Regions from separate parts of the Homo sapiens genome. Here region 1 is linked to region 2. Evidence: promoter capture Hi-C in human tissues and cell types (Jung and others, 2019). All regions are on one chromosome and are shown on one strand. Each heading gives the region's core, a stretch centred on a gene start or on the middle of the fragment in contact. The rest is flanking DNA. Distances are from core to core; before and after follow the strand shown.

Evidence for each region. The method cuts DNA at HindIII sites, captures the fragments that hold promoters and counts their contacts. A contact is called where the count stands out against the background at its distance.
Region 1: a fragment that was not itself captured here is called in contact with the fragment with the promoter of TUBB6 in region 2 in 1 of the 25 tissues and cell types used here (H1 embryonic stem cells).

What each region holds. Positions count from the first base shown.
Region 1 is chr18:12,064,576-12,067,946 of GRCh38, reverse strand. It overlaps the pseudogene LOC646044. Among named protein-coding and RNA genes, the nearest start is that of ANKRD62, 28 kb to the left of the region's middle. The HindIII fragment of the contact is 4,563 bases long and covers 1-3,371 here.
Region 2 is chr18:12,306,562-12,310,019 of GRCh38, reverse strand. TUBB6 (tubulin beta 6 class V) reads right to left here and starts at 1,779. Exons shown (of 4, transcript NM_032525.3): 1 at 1,671-1,779; 2 at 1,225-1,333. The coding sequence starts at 1,727. RefSeq lists silencers at 1,244-1,593, 1,614-1,713, 1,804-2,293. The HindIII fragment of the contact is 9,027 bases long and covers 1-3,458 here.

The DNA of each region.
Region 1 (3,371 bases), core at 839-3,338, 240 kb after region 2:
CCCGGCTCCCAGCCATCCCCCCACAACCCCAATGCCCCCGTGATGGGGCCTCACGGTCAGCCCTTCATGTCACCGCGCTTCCCAGGGGGTCCCCGGCCCACCCTGCGGATGCTAAGTCAGCCTCCCGCAGGCCTCCCCGGCTCCCATCCCCTCCTCCCTGGCGCCATGAAGCCCTCCCCACGAGCCCAGGGGCATCCGAGCATGGGCGGCCCAATGCGGAGGGTGACGCCTCCTCGCGGCATGGCCAGCGTGGGGCCCCAGAGCTATGGAGGCGGCATGCGACCCCCACCCAACTCCCTTGCCGGCCCAGGCCTGCCTGCCATGAACATGGGCCCAGGAGTTCGTGGCCCGTGGGCCAGCCCCAGTGGAAACTCGATCCCCTACTCCTCCTCATCCCCTGGCAGCTACACGGGACCCCCAGGAGGAGGTGGGCCCCCTGGAACACCTCATCATGCCTAGCCCTGGAGATTCTACCAACTCCAGTGAAAACATGTACACTATCATGAACCCCATCGGGCCGGGTGCCGGCAGGGCTAATTTCCCGCTCGGCCCTGGCCCGGAGGGCCCCATGGCCGCCATGAGCGCGATGGAGCCTCACCACGTAAGCGGATCCCTGGGCTCGGGCGACATGGACGGGTTGCCGAAGAGCTCCCCCGGCGCCGTGGCCGGCCTGAGCAACGCCCCGGGCACCCCGCGGGACGACGGCGAGATGGCGGCCGCCGGGACCTTCCTGCACCTGTTTCCAAGCGAAAGCGTAAGCGACTGCTTCGACTCTCCCCCCTCCAGGGCGGTGTCAGGCGGGAGGGGCCTGGCGGGCAGGCCCCGGCGGGGCGGCCGGGGGGCCAGAGCAAGACCGTGACAGCGGCGGGCCAGTACTCGCCAGGGATGACCATGAGTGTGTGATGGGGCGGCAGCCCCGGGCCTCTGCGGGCCTAGGCTTCTGCCCAGCCTCCCTGCTCAGGGTGAGGGGCTGAGGTCACACCTTGGGCACCTGGACTCCTGGCCAGTCAAGGCTTGCCCAGCTGGGAGGCCCCACACGAAAGATTCTTACCATTTTATTAGAAACGCAAGGACCTCAGAGACGTTCTTTTCTGTATGGACCCTTTCTGCCATTTGTATTTTGTCCCAGAGAGAAAGGCTCTTTGGGGGGCCCCTCTCCCCAGGACGTCAGGGGGTGGGGCCCATCGATAAATGGAAGCTGGTTTTGGTTTTTTGGTAAAAAAAAAAAAAAAAAAAAAAAAGTGATGAGAAAACTCAGACACAGCCTTCATGCAATTTTGCTGAAAATATAGTGAACATGCTCTTACAACTCATTCATACCCAGGTTTCCATGACTTCAAGTTTTGTGTTCTTTTTCTGCTACTTCAGTAAGAGTATTTAGAGACACAAGATGGCCAATCATAGAATCTGGGGGAAATTAACAATATTTAAAGAGCAGATCAAGAAAGAGGAACTACTTAAGACAACAAAAGGAGGTATGAGAATGTGCAGGCCAGGCACGGTGGCTCAGGCCTGAAATCCCAGCAGTCTGGGAGGCCGAGGGGGAGCGGAGCACCTGAGGTCAGGAATTCGAGACCAGCCTGGCCAACATGATGAAACCCTGTCTCTACTAAAAATACAAAAATTAGCCTGACGTGGTGGTGGGCACCTGTAATTCTAGCTGCTCGGGAGACCGAGGCAGGAGAATTGCTTGAACCTGGGAGGCAGAGGTTGCAGTGAGCCAAGATCCTGCCATTGCACTCCAGCCTGGACAACAAGAGTGAAACTCCATCTCAACAAACAAACAAAGAAGCAAACAAAAGATGTGCATGGAGGAGTTTTAAGAAAGAGGGAGTCAAATCTAGTAGAGGCCAGCTTTGATTAGAGGTGATCATTCATCACAGGACTTTTGGAGAAAATTGGTGACGTGTATCAAAAAAGTTTCAGTGGAATTGTGGAAAAGATAAGTGTGATGGAGCAGTGAGTTGTGAACTAAATGAAAGGTAGAGAAGGGGAGACAATGAGGACAGACTTCTCTTTTAAAAAGCCAGAAAAAAAACGGAGATGGAAAGGGATGAGAATGCAGGTGGAGGTGAGACAGACAAAGAGATGAGGTGAGGCCAAAGGACAAGGTGGCCCTTTAGCGCAAGACTCATGGGAGTCCTTATAAACTAAAGGGTAGGAACCAGGGGCTGAGCAGAGGCTGACAACACAGAGGAAAGGACGTTTCAAGATTCCTTAGTAGCTGAGTGAGAAGACCCTGAGCACTGGTGGAGGAGCATGGCATGAACAGACAGAGGACTCTGAGAGCAGACGAAACAGAAGACGACTATCCTGGGGCCAGATGTGCAGCAGGGGATGGGCAGGAAGGCGGGGAGTTCAGACAGGACTCATAAGCTGTGAGTGCATGGAGAGGCAAGCTGGCTGACTGCGTATTTGCATAAATGCAGTTATTATAAAATCCATATATAGATTTTACTTTTCAAAGAACTATAACACACAGAACACCAAAACTATACAAAATAAAGCCATCTGTTTTAGACAATTTAGAAAATACTTAAGCATATGGCCGTGTTCTTCATTAAGAATAATAGACCTTTACTGTGTAAGTCTGAAATTCTGAGCTGCCTTTGAACGGGCTCCATGATACGCTCTGAAAGCTACTTTAAAAACAAACCTCTGATACCCATTGGTTTATTTGTCTTCTGTCTCTTTCTCATAAAAGTTGACTATAGAAGACATTTCCAGTAACTGTGATTTCAGTGATTTCAAAGCTAAATGAATAGGAGTTTCCTGCACCATCTCATAAGCATTGCATTTGCCCAGAAAACTGCTTAAACTTGACTTCAGACTTTTACTACACTCTGCTTCTGTAATGGATCAGTTCTCTGGTTTATATGAAATTCTAACAGGCTTGCATAAGCTTTCATCCTACTCATTCTTACATGAACTTCATGATATAATGAAATAAAAATGTAATGAGATAAAAATCTCTAAGCAAATTACTTCCTAAGTGGCAAATCACTAGAAAGTGAGAATTGTTATAATTCCGTCCGTACTCCACCTCCAGGGATGTGCTTTCAGGAACAAAGACAGATCTCAGTGTTCCAGTGAAGCAAGAGTGGCTGTGACCGTGGTCCAGTGCAGCAGAGGAAAGACCTATGTCTGAGCATGAGGCCATGTTAGAGAGGCTCCTGGGGTTTGGCTCCTCTTCCTGCCTCACCCCTTCTACTTTGAACCCCTGCCCCAGTTCACACCCCCTCCACTGCCCTTCAGGAGTAAGGCACACTGCACACACACACACACTACACACTCATACACTGTACACACACACTGTACACACATTGCACACTCACACTGTACACACACTGCACAGACATGCACACATTGCA
Region 2 (3,458 bases), core at 530-3,029:
TTTACAACTTTAGCTCCATGGAAATAAACTAGGTATTTACAGCAAATTGCCAGGTTTGGATGAAATTCTCTGCTTTGTGACACCTCCCCCATGCATACACATACATGTGCCCATGTGCAGTCTGAGAACCTTGTTACCCGGAGCACGCCACTGGCTGTTTCCCCAGAGTCACTCTCATTTTGAGTCAGAGTGTTCTTGTGTGGAAATTTCATGCCAATTGGGCTAGAACTTGTTCCCGGTGAGGACACGGTTAATATGATTCCAGATAGGACCTGCTCTTCAACTCCTGTCCTGCAGTGCACTCGCCAAGATCGAAAATGGATGTACCCAAGCTGGGTGAGGGATTAACATGAAGTGCAGTGTATACTGGAACTATCCTTAGTGTCCTCTAGAAATTTCATCTTCCATGCCCTGATGTTCCCAGCCTTTTGTCATTGCTGCGTAAATGAATAAAACTCCACTCGTTGCTGAGAACTGCCTGGAGTTTCAGCTTCCAGGGAGGTTAAAGTCTTTTTAGAGGTCTGCAAGGGACCAGAAAAGTCACTTAAGAGAGCGTTTCTCAAATTTTTAGCCAAGAATCCCCAATAAGAGATACGTTTTAAACTGGGGGGGGGGGGGGGGAAGCTTTGTTTTTCCCAAGGATCCTTGAGAAACGCTCTAATTTATTCTAACAGGGTCTCGCTCTGTCACCCAGGCTGGAGTGCAGTGGCGCGATCACAGCTCACTGCAGCCTCGACCTCCTGAGCTCAAGCCCTCAGTTAACTGGTACTACAGGGGTGGGCCACCAAGCCCGGCTAATTTTAAAATTGTTGTAGAGATCGGGGCGGGAGGGGGGCGGGGGGTGGTCTCCTATGCTGCCCAGGCTGGTCCTGAACTCCTGGCCCCAAATGATCCTCCAGTCTCGGCCTCCCAAAGCGCTGGGATTAGAGGCTTGAGCCACCGCGCCCGGCTAGACAGAGAAGGCTGGGCAGGAACCGCTACGTTGATTTCACAACGCTAACGGGTGGTCCCGTTCAAGCGCTCAGACCCTCAGGATAGGCTGAATCGAGCTGTTTGAATAAACTGACGGCGGATTTCCCGCCCCGGAGGAGCGAAGGGAGTGGCCGGGCATCCTGCTACACCCCGAGAGAACTTTTCCCGAAGCAAACTCGCCGCGCTAAGAGGCGGCGCCGGAGCGTCCACGCGGGTCCCGGCCGGGCAGGGCGCGGCGGCCTTGCTACTCACACGATGACTCATTGTAGTAGACGTTGATTCTCTCCAGCTGCAGCGCCGAGTCTCCCACGTAGCCTCCGGCCGGGTCGATGCCGTGCTCATCGCTGATCACTTCCCAAAACTTGGGCAGGGCAAGGCGGGGGGACAGACGCTCAGAACCCAGAGCCCGGGACGCCGCCACCCGCGCCCACCCCAGGCGCCCCGGCGGCCGAATTCCAGGCGCGCCTGAGCCGCCGGCAGCCGCTCCCAGTTGGGATGGGGGTGGGGAGCGAAGAGTAGAAGGTCCCCGGCCGGCCACGCCCCGGGCGCTCCCTCCCTGCGGCCCTCGCGGGTCCGCACCGGGCTCCGAGGACCCAGGGGCGCACAGCGGGTGCGCGCCCCGGCGGGGGTCGCGCCGGGAGACCCGGGGCCCGCCAGCAGCCGACCCGCGGAGAGGCCCTGCACCGCGCCAGGCCCACCTTGGTGCCGATCTGGTTCCCGCACTGGCCCGCCTGGATGTGCACGATCTCCCTCATGGCGGGCGCGGCTCTGCGCTAGGAACTGGCTCTGCGGACGACAGCGGCAACTGCGGGCCGGCTGCGCGCGTCCCGGGGCCGACCCTCCGCGCCCCCGCCCCCGCCCCGCCGCTCGCCAATGGCTGCGGGCCCCGCCCCGCCGCCCCCGCTCGACGCCGCGGCCCGGCCTGCAGCAGCCGAGGGAGGACGCGCGGGCGCCAGTCGGGGGACCCTTGCCGGGAGCCGGGCGGAAAAGGACGGGCCCGGAGCTGGCGGGGAGGAGACGGGAAGGAGCGCGGCGCCCGCCCCCACCACCGTTTCGCTGCCCCTTGTGGTGCCCCGCCAGAGGGAGACGCGAGTCGGGCCCTGGCGTCGGGGCAGCGGAGCCGACGTGGCCCGCGGGGTCCCAGCGCCGCGCCCGGGAGCATTGCAGCCGCCCGCGCCCAGTCCAGCCAAGCCGGGACACTGCCCTGGGGTTCGGCGGTGGAGCTTTTCAGGGTCTCTGCCCCCTGCCCCCCACCCCCCGGTCGCACCCCGGGCACACGTTCTTAGGGCCTCTTCGTCCTGGTGTTTCCGTCTCCGGAGATACAGAGGCCATTCCTCTCCGACGACTCCCACCCCTTTGGAACCGGGTTTAGCTAAAGTGACTACAGGGCTGGATCCGAAAATGAACACCTCCTGCGCCGGGTCTATGCAGCCTACTCCTCGCGCGTTAGCGAAGAAATGCGCTTCGGCCTGGGAGGGCGCGCCAGAGTCCGTCTTCCTGGCCAGTTTTGTGTGGTGGAAAGGAATGACTGCTGATGCCGGCCGGGTGACTTGGATTTTAATTCTAGCTGTTTTCAGTTAGCTCTGCGCTTCAGCGGACTCCTCTGTTAACGGAAAAGGTTATCCTAGGGGAGCCTTTCAGCCTCCAAAATGCGGGATGCTCTGGCCTCTGCAGTCAGAATGTGCATGCATCAGGGCTTTTGCGGAAGTTTCCTCACGTGAACGCTGCAGGCTGGGACCACCGGGGTAGCCTCTGCGTCCCCTCCCAGGCCCGTAGAAACGCCGCACATGAGGAAGCGACGATGTTCTGTAATTTGCACTGGCACTTTCTTTTTAGACAGATGAAAACTTTGGGAAATTCCTAATTGTGTGTGTGCATGTTTGTACGTTTGGAAGGGAGTGGAGAACTTTTAAAAGTTTTTCTTCTGGAGTTTTGCAAATGTTTCCAAATTGAGGAATTTTTTTTTTTAACCCTTGGGTCCCCGCCTCCCCACTGCTCTCTCCACCCCAGTGCTGCTCCTCGGCCTTCTTGTGGGTCCCCACACCTCTTTACACAGCCACACGCCCAGGGAGCAGATGAGGAGGCCACAGCCCAGCCCCTGCGCTCCCATTTCAAACTATGAGCCTGAGATTAATCAGCCACCTTCTCCTGAGTCCTCAACACCCTTATTTAGGCTGTTTGTTTCCATTGCTTAATTATTGACTCCAACGAGTGCTACCTTAACCCATCCTGCCGGCCCGAAGTCTAGTGTGGGGAGCCCGAGAGCGGAGGGCCTGTGCCATCCCTGGAAGAACCCTTCCTCCAGCTTTAGTCTCTCTCTCTAAGAAATCCAGCCATCAAGTGGTTTAAAAGAAAGTGTCTACTTTAGAAGCTTTGGTCGTTTGCTGAAATAGCCACCCTTTCAGTGCTAGCCCTTGGGCTGGAATTTAAGTCCAGGGGTCTGATCGAGCCAGAAAGTAGGTGTCAGCGTGGCTTCCGGAAGTCCG